Linked DNA regions of Homo sapiens: region 1 is linked to region 2. Evidence: promoter capture Hi-C in human tissues and cell types (Jung and others, 2019). All regions are on one chromosome and are shown on one strand. Each heading gives the region's core, a stretch centred on a gene start or on the middle of the fragment in contact. The rest is flanking DNA. Distances are from core to core; before and after follow the strand shown. Region 1 overlaps TNRC6B (trinucleotide repeat containing adaptor 6B). Region 2 holds the start of DNAJB7 (DnaJ heat shock protein family (Hsp40) member B7).

Region 1 (6,608 bases), core at 2,795-5,294, 600 kb before region 2:
ATAATAGTTTGTACTAGTTCTGTGCAGCTGCTGTGTTCAGAACCCTGCCTGGTTTGGAAGTTTCTTAAAGAGCACTTTTATCTGAAAAAGTAGCATCTAATTGGAGTTTTCAGAAATAGGGGCAATTGGAAGTTTAAACTGTGAGATACAAGAATGGAATAAGAAAAATGGGATGAGGAAGGGGAGGAGATTCAATTATTAGAGCACGTAAATGGTTCTTAAAAGAAAATGAATGGAGGACGGGCACGGTAGCTCATGCCTTTTATCCCAGCACTTTGGGAGGCTGAGGCAGGTGGATCACCTGAGGTCAGTAGTTCGAGGCCAGCCTGGCCAACATGGTGAAACCCCGTCTCTACTAAAAATACAAAATTAGCCGGGTATGGTGGTGCACACCTGTAATCCCAGCTACTTGAGAGACTGAGGCAGGAGAATCGCTTGATCCTGGGAGGCGGAGGTTGCAGAGAGCCGAGATCACGCCACTGTACTCCAGCCTGGGCAACAAGAGCGAAACTCCGCCTCAAAAAAAAAAGTAAATGAATGGACGGCCAGGTGCGGTGGCTCACGCCTATAATCCCAGCACTTTGGGAGGCTGAGGCGGGCAGATCACCTGAAGTCAGGAGTTCGAGACTAGCCTGGCCAAGATGATGAAACTCCGTCTCTGTTAAACATACAAAAATTAGTGAGGCGTGGTGGTGCACGCCAGCTACTCGGGAGGCTGAGGCAGGAGAATCACTTGAACCTGGAAGGTGGAGGTTGCAGGAAGCTGAGATCCTGCTACTCCACTCTAGCCTGGGCAACAGAGCAAGACTCAGTCTCAAAAAACAAACAAAAAAAGAAGTAAATGAATGGAAATCAGAAAATAGGATACACAGCCTTTTTTTTTTTTTTTTTTTTTTTTTTTTTTACCCCACAATGTTTTTATTTCCCTATAGTACTGAGATCATGTTTAAGCCACAAACCTTTCCTCTGGAAGATAAGAAACTATGCACTTACTTTGAACAGCTCATCTTTAGAAAAACTTGCACAACTTACAAATCCTTAAGATTCAGAAAAGAGACAGCCTGAAAAGTAACATATTCAGACTTTTAATGATAGCTTCTCTTGCCCTTTATCGTCTAACATTCTGGACCATGATGATGGGTGATGCACACTGATTCTGATGTCTTAAGTTTGGACTTTGGGAGTCAATTTGGATCAGACATCCTGCCTGAAAAGCTGTGTTGCTCTCCAATTAGTGCCGGCAATTCTGGTTGGCCTTTAAAAGCTTAACATTCTTGGATTCACAGAAAGGTGTGATTTAAAAAATAGAGTAAGAATTCATTCAGGTGCTGAAACACAGTTTGCTATGACTAAGGTGGTGTCTTGGGCGTTTTCTGACTGTTTCCTGGAGGTTTTGTTTTTTTCTTTTTATACTTTGACCTATTTGTACATGATGTCCTGGAGTTTGAATGACTAATCTCCTGGGCCAGAGCACACTGTATTGGGAGGAAAGTGGTTGAGGTGTGTTCCCATTTTATAATGACTTTATCATTTACAATCCATTCTGTCTCTGATGTGGTGGGAAAGTGCCCTGAGGAACTTTTGCAAGGAATCTTACATGATACGTGATACCTACCAAATTTCTTCAGTTGAAACAGTGCTGTGAATGTTTTAAAGTGAGTCAAACTGGTGTTCAGCCCTCAGTCCTGCAGGTCACTCTGTCATGTCTTGTTGTTTTTCTGGATTGAGTTAAAAGTATGTAGTAGACCTGGGTAACTTATAATGAAGATTCTTGACCTTTATAGCAGGGCAGCCTTACAGAAACATAGCTCTTTCTGTCCTAAAAACCAGTTGGGATGAATTTCTCCAGTCTCTGCCAACTTCTTGTTTATTCTCATAATAAGATAAAAGGGGATTGCGAATGCCCTGTGCTATAGAATCCTCCAGTAACAGATAGAAAATTAATATTAAATAATCTTCATTCATTCATTTACCAGTTATGTATCCATCTGTTGTTATAGGTCATGAATATTAGATAATGACTAATTTTCTTTTCTTTTTTTTTTGAGACAGAGTCTTGCTCTGTGGCCCAGGCTGGAGGGCAGTGGCACGATCTCGGCTCACTGCAACCCCCGCTTCCCAGGTTCAAGCAATTCTCGTCCTCAGCCTCCTGAGTAGCTGGGAATACAGGCGCATGCCACCACGCCCAGCTAATTTTTGTATTTTTAGTAGAGACTAGGTTTCACAATGTCGGCCAGGATGGTCTCGATCTCCTGACCCTGTGATCTACCCACCTCGGCCTCCCAAAGTGCTGGGATTACAGGCGTGAGCCATCGCGCCTGGCCGACTAATTTTATTTTCTTAAGTCACACATTTATTCTGCTCATCAGATTTTGGATCCTCTGACCTCCACTCCCCCTCCCCTTACTGGGAGGCCTGGTGCTGCCTTGTGATTAGCTGAGGTTAGACATGGGGTTACCTGGAAATTGCTGCAGGCACCTGCTCTTTTCTCCTGTCACCCACAGTATGTTAATGTCCAGTAGTGGCATAGATTGGGCCGCCTGATTTCTGATGATGTATCTCTCTCATAAAGGAGCCAGTTCAGCAAGCAACATGCTGGCCCCGCATCATTTTAGCAGTCAAAGCAGTACTACCCCCAGAGTTGGCCCTGACGTTACCCTGGGAGGCAGGGATTTGGGCCTCAGAATCATCCGAACTGTCAGGCTTGATGATTATTTCTGTACGACTTCCAGCCTCTATTTGCCAGGTAGATTTTTATGGAGAGGGTAGTGATCTTCTGGCAGCATGCAGCGAGGGAGGTACAGATCTAAGAGAGCCTTCTCTGTATGTTCGACGGGAAGAGCCAGAGGGTCCGGCAGAGTGCGGTTTCACGGTTGCCCCGACATTCCCACGCTGTGTGCGGGCCATTTTTAAAATTAAGTTTAAAAAAATCAAATGATTTAAAGTAAACAGAAAAAGTATTTACATTTTGAAATTTCTATTTTAAAGAATTGGGAAGAAACACTTTTTTTTTTTTTTAAAGAAAAGCAAAAAGATTTGTAACATTTCTAGTATTTACACAGAGAGCGGTGCAAGTCTTTGAGTCCAGGTAGCTGTAGAAACCAGAACCAAGCTGAGTTTGTGATTTTCTAGGCCTGGAGTTTCTTGTAAGAGTCCACTCTGTGCCATGCCCTAAGGAAGAAAGAAAAGATGAAAGATGGGTCCTTGCCCTCAGGAAGTCATGGCCTGGTGAGGGAGAAGGACTTGTAAATGGAGAATTTCTGTGATAGAGAGAGATGGGACTTGTAGATGGAGAATTTCGGTGGTAGAGATAGATGGATTTTTGAATGGAGAATTTTCATGGTAGAGAGAGATGGATGATGTGTTCCAGGAGCACTTAGGAAGAATGTTTAGCCCATCTAGGCCAGGGGCTTCAATAAAGTTTACTCAGGGGTAGATCTTTTAAGAATGTGGATGAAGGGAAGGGACCCTTGGACTGAGGCTTGAAACCTTTCCCAAGGACTTTGCCATGGACATTTAACTCTTCTAGGCAGCACTTCAGGGAATTAATTCCACTGTTGATTTAGGGGAGTGAATGTTGATTGCTTCCCTCTCCGCCTTAATTAATGGAATGTATTCCATGACCTTGCTGTGTTTAAATTCTTGTCACTGTCAGCCGCCACCTTCATCCTACCTTCAGCAAACTGGAGAGATTGTGGAGAATTTGGAAAAACTGTTTCCCTTGAGAGTAGAGTAAAAGGAGAAGTTACTTTGTTAGAATTGGTACCATGTAAGCTTTCTTACAAATAATCTTAGCCAGGGTCTGGGTGTGGTGGCTCACACCTGTAATCCCAGCACTTTGGGAGGCCGAGGTGGGTAAATAGCTTGAGTTCAGGAGTTCGAGACCAGTCTAGGTAGGCAACATGGCAAAACCCTGTCTCTAGAGGAGGAAAAAAAAATTAGTTGGGCATAGTGGTGTATGCATTGTAGTCCCAGCTACTCAAGAGGCTGAGGTGGGAGGATCACTTGAGCCCTGGAGGTAGAAGTTGCAGCAAGCCAAGATCACTGCACTCCAGCCCGAGTTATACAGCAAGACCTCATCTCAAAAAAATAAAAAATAGGCTGGGTGCAGTGGCTCATGCCTGTAATCTCAACACTTTGGGAGGCCAAGGCAGGCGGATCATGAGGTCAGGAGTTCAAGACCAGCCTGGTCAACATAGTGAAAACCTGTCTGTACTAAAAATACAAAAAATTAGCTGGTTTTGGTGGTGGGCGCCTGTAATCCGAGCTACTTGGGAGGCTGAGGCAGGAGAATTGCTTGAACCTGGGAGGCGGAGGTTGCAGTGAGCGGAGATTGCACCACTGCACTCCAGCCTGGGCGACACTCACACTGGGTGACAGTGTGAGACTCCGTCTCAAAAATAAATAAATAAATAAATAAATAATAATCTTGGCCAGGCACAGTGGCTCACTCTTGTAATTCTAGCACTTTGGAAAGCCAAGGTGGGAGAGTCCCTTGAGCCCGAGTTCAAGACCAGCATGGGCAACATGGCAAGACCCCATCTCTAAATAAAATAATAAAATTATTTTTAAAATTTTTAGAAAAAATGTATTTGATGTATTTCAAAGACTGTTTCCCAACCCCTCTCTTTTAGTGCCCGAAGTGACGAAACCAAGTTTAAGCCAACCAACGGCCGCCAGCCCAATTGGCAGCTCTCCATCGCCACCAGTCAATGGTGGCAACAATGCCAAAAGGGTGGCAGTGCCGAACGGACAACCGCCAAGCGCCGCCCGCTACATGCCTCGGGAGGTGCCGCCGCGATTCCGTTGCCAGCAGGACCACAAAGTGTTACTAAAACGTGGGCAGCCCCCTCCACCGTCCTGCATGCTCCTTGGGGGTGGGGCAGGGCCTCCTCCCTGCACAGCACCTGGAGCAAACCCAAACAACGCACAAGTGACAGGAGCGCTGCTGCAGAGTGAGAGTGGGACTGCGCCAGGTAAGGCACCCTGTGAATCGAATGCATGGCAGCTTGACAGAGAGAGAGCACTTTGTTTGCATTGCTTGATGTAAAGTCCAGGAAAGCCATTCATTATATAAACCACTGGGATTAGTCAAAAGATGAGAGAGGATCCTAGTATGCGATGTGTATTGGTGATTCTTGGAACTGAGGTTTAGTGTTCCGTAAGTGTGTGCTCTTGGCATAAGGGCTAACTTAACTGCTGTTGCTTATTATTTTGGGGGCCTTTTTTCCTTCTCAGACTAGAGTGTTACAAATTTGAGCCTCCATAGTTCCACCGTCATATGTGTTCAGGGCATAATTGGACATGGGGCTTGTGCGAAGGCGAATCTTTAGATGCCTGTGTTATGTTTCCAGAATGCTAGGAGGATAGAGAAAATGATTTGCTACATTGCAATATAGAATCTTCGGAGGATTCTAAAATAATACTATAGTTTTTAAATTAGATTTTTAAACTCAGTATTTCTTTTTGTGGGCCCTGGATTTTGAGCTTTGTTAAAAACTGTATGTAGAAATAAGGGATATTTAGCTGAAAGGTTCTACTAGAAGTTTTGAGAGTTTTTGGCCGGGCACGGTGGCTCACGCCTGTAATCCCAGCACTTTGGGAGGCCGAGGCGGGTGGATCACCAGGTCAGGAGATCGAGACCACCCTGGCTAACATGGTGAAACCCTGTCTCTACTAAAAATATAAAAAAATTAGCCAGGCATGGTGGCGGGCTCCTGTAGTCCCAGCTACTCGGGAGGCTGAGGCAGGAGAATGGCGTCAACCCAGGAGGCGGAGCTTGCAGTGAGCCGAGGTCGCGCCATTGCACTCCAGCCTGGGTGACAGAGCCAGACTCCGTCTTAAAAAAAAAAAAAAAAAAGTTGTGAGAGTTTTTAATAGATGAATACTAAGTCAACTAACAGCTAAGAAATTCTAAATATCTTTTAAAGTTTATTAACAGATTTCAACTTAAAATGTCTTTTGGGGTGATATTAAAATTCAGAGCTTGAATACCATTAGGCATTGGCAAAGATAATGAATTGATGGTTGTCACCAGTAGGATGCTTTATTTGAGTTCTGAGTTTAAACAAATAATTGCCTAGAAAATTTGGTCACCATCTTGCTGTGTGCAGAGTAAGGATGGAAAGAAACCTCGTGGTGACACAGACTTCCTGCAGAGATAAGCCCTACCCATGGCCTTTCCTTCCTGGCTCTCCAAACCAGCTGCAAAAGGAAGCATGTGAAGGGGCAGGCCCTGTCAGGCGGAGTTTCTGCAGCCGAGTGTAGCCAGGCCTAGGTGGAGACTGGGGTCCAGTGTGAGTCAGAGTCCACATTATTAAAACGGAGGAGGCCCCTAAATCTCGAGTTTCGGTTTCTATGCTTTTTATTTTTCTATGCCTCCGTATAATACTTTTTGAAACTTCAAATTGATTAAAAGCTGCCTGGTTAAAGAAGCCAAAATAAATTTAGAAGAAATGATCTCATTAAAAACATGTTTTTCCCACCAAATATGGTAAATTCCACCAAAATATATGGTGAGCCAGACTCATTTAACAGATTAAGTTCCTTGGGGTTGTGAACTCTGCCTAATTCATACTCATGTGACACCCCTGCCACCCTGGGCACCT
Region 2 (6,575 bases), core at 1-2,500:
CAAATTCTTATTAGCACCAACTGTCACCACAAACTCATCCTTTTCTGACATACCCATTCAAAAAAACTACTAACCAAATGTCCACAATCCTGCTAAAAGTGTTGAAAAGCTCTTAGTATAGTATTAAGTGTTATCTACAAAATTTGTGATTAACCAAAACACACACAATTGTGTTCAAATGTTATATATTTGAAGAGTCAATTTAACAATTCCTTTTGGTAGACTTCTTTTGCACCTCTTTACGCTTCTTTTTTTTCCTCTTACCACCCTCTTTGACTCCTGCTGAGAAAATAGGGGGATCTCTGTTGCTGGTAACCCAAGATATACCTCCCTCATCATTGTCCACGAAAGTATATTGAGATACATGTTTGGAGCTGTGAGAATTTGGTGAATAGTTGTTGAATGACTGTGTTCTCCAGCTGCATTCTTTTGCAAAGCCCTCTTCATTGGCCACACTATTTACAAGAAAAAATGTCAACTCTCCATTATCTTCAGCTTCTCTTTCTTGATCACTTTCAATAATTTTCTTTGTATTAATATTTCTGCCATTAACGATTTTGTCTGAAGTTGTAACAGATATGTAGTTGTCCATCCCACTATTATCAAAAGCCAGGGAAGAGAAAGAAGTAAGGCCTTCATGCCCCAATGAACCCTGTGATGTATATCCTGTATCATATGAAGAAAATTTCTCAAAAATTGGATATTCACTGGCAGTGGAGAAAAAGTATCCTGCATCTCTGTTTCTGTTTCCATAGGAGCTTCCTGGACGATTTAACAGGTCCTCAAGCGAGTCTTCAAAGAAGTGAAAAGAAAATGGATCCCTTTCATGAAAAATTTCTTTAAAAACATCATCTGGCTTATGGAATGTGAAGCCGTACTCACATTCATCATCAAAATGACTTCCACCTCCGTTTAATCCTTCTGTGCCATATTTATCATAAATGTCCCGTTTCTCATCATTTGATAATACCTCGTATGCCTCAGCTACTTCTTTGAATTTTCTCTCTGCTTCTTCTTTATTTTCTGGATTTTTATCAGGGTGCCATTTAAGTGCCACTTTATGATAAGCTTTTTTAATGTCCTCAGGTGAAGCATATCTTTGCAGTCCTAGAACTTCATAGTAATCCACCATGTTTTAACAGATAGTTGGAAGTGGGTGTGCTGGGTATTGAGAACCGTGGTTTCCTCAGCTCAGGCTCTGCTGGTGGTGGTGATAGAGGTAGTGACTGCAAATAGGTACACTTTTATGTTAAAGACAATGTTATTACCATGTGCTAAGAGATGAGGATACTGATTATGTGGCAAGCAGAGTTACAAATATGTCAGAGAGGGCTGCATTATGGTGTCATTCTGGGGTCAGTGTAGGGACTGGACCTTCCAAATAGAGCTAGTCCAGAGTCGTACCAGACCATCCTGAATCCTCTGGACTGTTTCCCCTGTATGTTTCCCTGGAAGCTTCAGGCAGTGCCTCATAAGCCAATGGAATCTGTTGCTAATAGCCACAGCATATCCCTTGCATAATATGACCTCTAGATTACTGCGCCTTAATTGCTTCCCAGCTCTTCTATGCTTTGGTTTAGAAAAATGAAGTACTGACTTACGGGTGAAGAAAGTATTCAAACAGTTGACATATTTATTTCAGTCAAGAAACAGTTCAGAGGGAGATACAAACAAGTAACTTAGTTACAATATAATAGTTATGATGAGAGGAAGTACTGGATGCTAAACAATTATATGAGAGACAGCTCAGGCTGGGGGTGTCAATGAAAGCCTCTTGGAGGAAGTAGCCTGATATGTTAACTTTCTGCATGCCAGTGGTAAGTCATTTGAGATTATAGTATCTTTGTCCACCCAAGGTTTACTGCTGTAAAACATGTAATTAAAGATTTGGAAAGTTGTGTGTTTATGTATTCACTGTATAATTATTGATTGTCTACTTTGTGCCAGGCACCGTTTTAGCCACTGGTGATAGCAGTATTGAACAAAAGACACCAGTTTTCCTGGTGCTTGCATTATAATAGAATACAAATAGGAGAACAAATAAAATAATTTAAGATAATGCGATATGTGCTCCAAAAAAAATAGCAATGTGCTGGGGGCAGAGCGCTACTTTAGATTGGTTTTAGAAGGCTTCTGAGGAGATGACATTATTGCTGAGACCTATATGACAGTCAGCCACATAGTGATCTAATATGGTAGCCACTGGCCATGTTGATGGACATTTTGGTTGTTGCCAGTTGGGGCTGTTGGACATAAAGCTAGCACTTATTTCAAGTACAGTGGGAAGCCTTTGTGGGGAGTGGGGAATATGCAAGTTTAATGATGTGATTTACATTTGTAATGGATCAGTGGCTACTATTTGGAAATTCAGTCATGTATGGGAAAGTAGAATTCGAGAGCCAAATTAGAAACAGACCAAAGGTGATTTTCTTTGGGGATAAACTACCAGTAGTCTAGACCCGAATTTAAAGGTCTTATATTCTATACCTGGCTCATTTTATTGTCTGAGAAAATTCCCTGTAATCTTTGTTTTTCCTCCTCTATGTTGTGTTTATTTTATTTTCCATCACATTTATAACCCCTCAGTTAAATGATACGCTAATGAAATCTAAAACTGTAGTGTATGCTTCTAGTCTTTCAAGACCATTTGTCAGGTCTGAATATTTTTTTGCTTTGCATTTTTATATATACTCATTTTTTAGAGGTATTGTGAAATGCTTAAAACTCAATTTAAATTCTCTCCAGTGTATGTGCTTACATGTACTTATGTGTGGCTTACCCATGATTATAATTTGCCTACCACTGGAAATAATAACCAATAATGTCGAAAATTATTTGAGTACCCTCTGAGTCACACTGTAGCAAGTGCTCATTTAACTGACACAGCACTCTAGCAAAATAAATATTTTATGCCCATAAGAAAACAGACGTTCTGAGAGAGAAAGTAATTTGTCTAAGGCTACATAGCTTGTTAGTGAAAAATCTGATTTTTAAACTTGAGTCTAATTTCAAGTTCTCATTCCACTCTACTGCATTTCTCGGACTAGGACTTAAAGAGTTTAGGTTCTAGGCATTCCACAAACAGATACTGAGAACCTGCTGTTACCGGAAAGGGGTCCCAATCCAGACCCCAAGAGATGGTTCTTGGATCTCGTGCAAGAAAGAATTTCAGTGGAATCCACAGAGTAAAGTAAAAGCAAGTTTATTAAGAAAGTAAAGGAATAAAGAATGGCTACTCCATAGGCAGAGCAGCCCCAAGGGCTGCTGGTTGCCCATTTTTATGGTTATTTCTTGATTATATCCTAAACAGGAAGTGGATTATTCATGCTTCCCCATTTCAGACCATATAGGGTAACTTCCTGACGTTGCCATGGCATCTGTAAACTCTTGGGGTGCTGGTGGGAGTGTAGCAGTGAGGACAATCAGAGGTTACTGTCATTGCCATCTTAGTTTTAGTGGGGTTTGGCCAGCTCCTTTTTTTAAGAACATCACAGGTAAAGCTCACAGGAAGGTGACAGTCTAGGAGAAGATGTTCGCAGTGTCTAAATTTGACAGGGACTTATTTTATTTTCATTATTATTGTTACTATTATTATTATTTGAGGTGGAGTTTCGCTCTTATTGCCCAGGCTGGAGTGCAATGGTGGGGTCTTGGCTCACTGCAACATCTACCTCCCGGGTTCAAGCCATTCTCCTGCCTCAGCCCGCTGAGTAGCTGGGATTACAGGCATGCACCACCACGCCCGGCTAATTTTGTATTTTTAGTAGAGAGGGGGTTTCTCCATGTTGGTCAGGCTGATCTCGAACTCCCAACCTCAGGTGATCTGCCCGCCTCAGCCTCCCAAAGCGCTGGGATTACAGGCATGAGCCACCGCACCCAGCTGGTCAGCTTCTTTACTATAACCTACCTGTTTTATTAGCAGGGTTTTTGTGTCCTGCATTTTGTGCTGACTTCCTATTTCATTCTGTGATTAAGACTGCCTTAACTTACTGGGAATGTAGCCCAGTAGGTCTTAGCCTTATTTTACCAAACCCCTACTGAAGATGGAGTTGCTCTGGTTCAAACGCCTCTGACACTATGATACAGAGAAAAGGTAGAAAATAGGAAATTCTGCTCTTAAGAAATTCATATAGTTTGAAAAAACTAATTTCAGTGGAGTGTAAAGTTATAATACGAGCACTTGTTTCTGCAGTTATACCCTTCTTTGTTGATCCTTTGCCTCCCAGCCATCCGCTGTGCCATTTTCTCTGCCTCTTCACAACAAAACTTATCCAGAGTATTGTCTCAGTGTCTTTGCTTTCTTACATCCTATTCCCTCCTTGGCATACTCCAATCTGTCTTCTGTCTTCTTTACTCTGCTAAAATCGCCAGGGTCTCCAGTGATTGATGTTACCATATCCAGTGGTTGTCCTTTTGGCTTCCTTGTATTTTGAAGCACTTGCCACACTGTGAGCCCTCCTCACTTTTTTTTTTTTTTTTTTTTGAGATGGAGTTTCACTCTCGTTGCCCAGGCTAGAGTACAGTGGTGTGATCTCGGCTCACTGCAACCTCTACTTCCCAGGTTCAAGCCATTCTCCTGCTTCAGCCTCCCGAGTAGCTGGGATTACAGGCATGTGCCACCATGCCTGGCTAATTTTGTATTTTTAGTAGAGACAGGGTTTCTCCATGTTGGTCAGGCTGGTCTCGAACTCCCGACCTCAGGTGATCCACTTGCCTCGGCCTCCCAAAGTGCTGGGATTACAGGTGTGAGCCACTGCGCCTGGCATAGTCCTCCCCACTTCTTAAAACACTTGTTTTTTAACTTCCTAAATACCACACTCTTTTTTTGTGGGGGGCGGGGGGGCAGCGGGTAGAGACAGGGTTTAGCCATGTTGGCCAGGCTGGTCCCGAACTCCTGGCCTCAAGTGATCTGTCTGCCTGCCTCGGCCTCCCAAAGTGCTGGGATTACAAGCATGAGCCACCATGCCCAGCACTAAATACTGTACTCTTCTAGTTTTCCTTCTTTCTCCTGTGCTCTTTCTCACACTAAAATATTACAGTGCCAGGCTTTGTTCAGTCTCCCTGGGTAATACCCATTCCCAGGGCTTTAGATGCCATCTGTGTGCTTATAACACCCTAATTTATATATCTAGCCTAGCACTTTTCTCCCTGAAATTAAGATTGCTCTTTGACCTCTCCATTAAATTTATTTCCAATAAATATCTCAGGCTTTCCTGTTGCATGTAGTGGTACAACCATTTATTCACTTGTTCAAGTCAAAAATCAAGAATTATTCTTAATTCCTCTTTTTTCTTTATTTCTTATGTCCAATTAGAAGCCAGACTCATTGACTTTTAACTTCAAAATACATTTCAAATCAAGTCACTGGGAAAATAAAGTCAAATAACAAGTGATCTCTGCTTCCAAAGATTGTTCATAGTAGACTGGCAAACTAATTAGCAATTATGTGAAGTGTAGTAGGTATTAAAATAGAAATCATAGGAGCGTTGGGGAAGACATCTGAAACAAGCAGAACAGAGGCAGTAGGTGTGAGAAGAGTAAGAGAAGTCTCTTGCGTAAGTGATGTTTGAGCTGGTATTTTTTAGAATTTCTGTAATCGTATAAGCAGGCAGTGTCCACTTTAGACTAAGAGAACTATATTTTTTAATGCAAATGCTATTATGATGCAGAATGATTTAGCCGGGGTTCTTCAAGTAGCTTAGTGTGGCTGCAATAATGTTTTTTGAGGATTAGGTCAGATAAGGGAGCAGGATCCAAATCATGAAGTTTCCTAAGCAAAAGAGTTTGAAGCTTATGAACTGGATATTTTTGAAATAGGACTTAACACACCAGCTTTGCTACTAATTATATGACTTCGGGCAAAAGATGTTTAATGTAAGTAAAAAGCTATTGAGACCTTTTTTAAAAATTTACTGGGAATAAACATCTTAATTTATGTCTCCTGTTAAAGTGTTACTTGTTTGCTTTGAATTTAATAAAGTTAAGCTCCCTCTGCTTGAGAGTGGTCCAAAATATGCTAGGATTATTTCATATGAGCATTGAAAAAGGAATCAGTTAACTTTTTATATTCTGAAATTTTACTGCCTAATGAGATTACAGAAGACACTATGTGTGCATGAGTACGTGTGCACGAGCGTGCATGTGGAGAAGGTGCAGGAGGAGAGAAAGAGAAATCACCAATGCAACAGCAGCCTACTCCACCAGTGGGTTAGTGCTGCTGGAGGGAGATGAAAAGATTAGGAAGGTAAGATAGCTTTGAAGGCTTTGTATTCTAAATTAAGGAGTTAGATTTTTAACTGTCACGTGAGGTAGGCATTATCATCATTATTTTACAAACACAGAATCAGACTCAGAGAAGTAATCTGGACAAGGTTACACACTTAGTACCAGAGAAGCTGAGATTCAAACTCAGGTTTATTTGACTTCATAATCTTTGCTCTTATCCCTCCCCCTTGCCGCTCACTAGGTCCTCTCTGTTTAATCTCAACAATCAATACTGTACAATCTCCTTGTGAACATACAATTTCTGTAAGGACTATGAATTATGAATAATAATATATGTATTTGGGAGAGAA

The links. The method cuts DNA at HindIII sites, captures the fragments that hold promoters and counts their contacts. A contact is called where the count stands out against the background at its distance.
Region 1: a contact is called between a fragment that was not itself captured here and the fragment with the promoter of DNAJB7 in region 2, in 1 of the 25 tissues and cell types used here (dorsolateral prefrontal cortex).

What each region holds. Positions count from the first base shown.
Region 1 is chr22:40,257,198-40,263,805 of GRCh38, forward strand. It overlaps TNRC6B (trinucleotide repeat containing adaptor 6B), which reads left to right. Exons shown (of 23, transcript NM_001162501.2): 4 at 4,635-4,976. It overlaps LOC124905121 (a long non-coding RNA gene), which reads right to left. Exons shown (of 2, transcript XR_007068107.1): 2 at 1,845-3,171. Among named protein-coding and RNA genes, the nearest start is that of TNRC6B, 83 kb to the left of the region's middle. The HindIII fragment of the contact is 8,779 bases long and covers 1-6,608 here.
Region 2 is chr22:40,860,863-40,867,437 of GRCh38, forward strand. It overlaps DNAJB7 (DnaJ heat shock protein family (Hsp40) member B7), which reads right to left and starts at 1,251. Exons shown (of 1, transcript NM_145174.2): 1 at 1-1,251. The coding sequence starts at 1,132. The coding sequence ends at 203. The region is part of intron 1 of XPNPEP3 (X-prolyl aminopeptidase 3); the gene reads left to right. The HindIII fragment of the contact is 4,259 bases long and covers 1-3,622 here.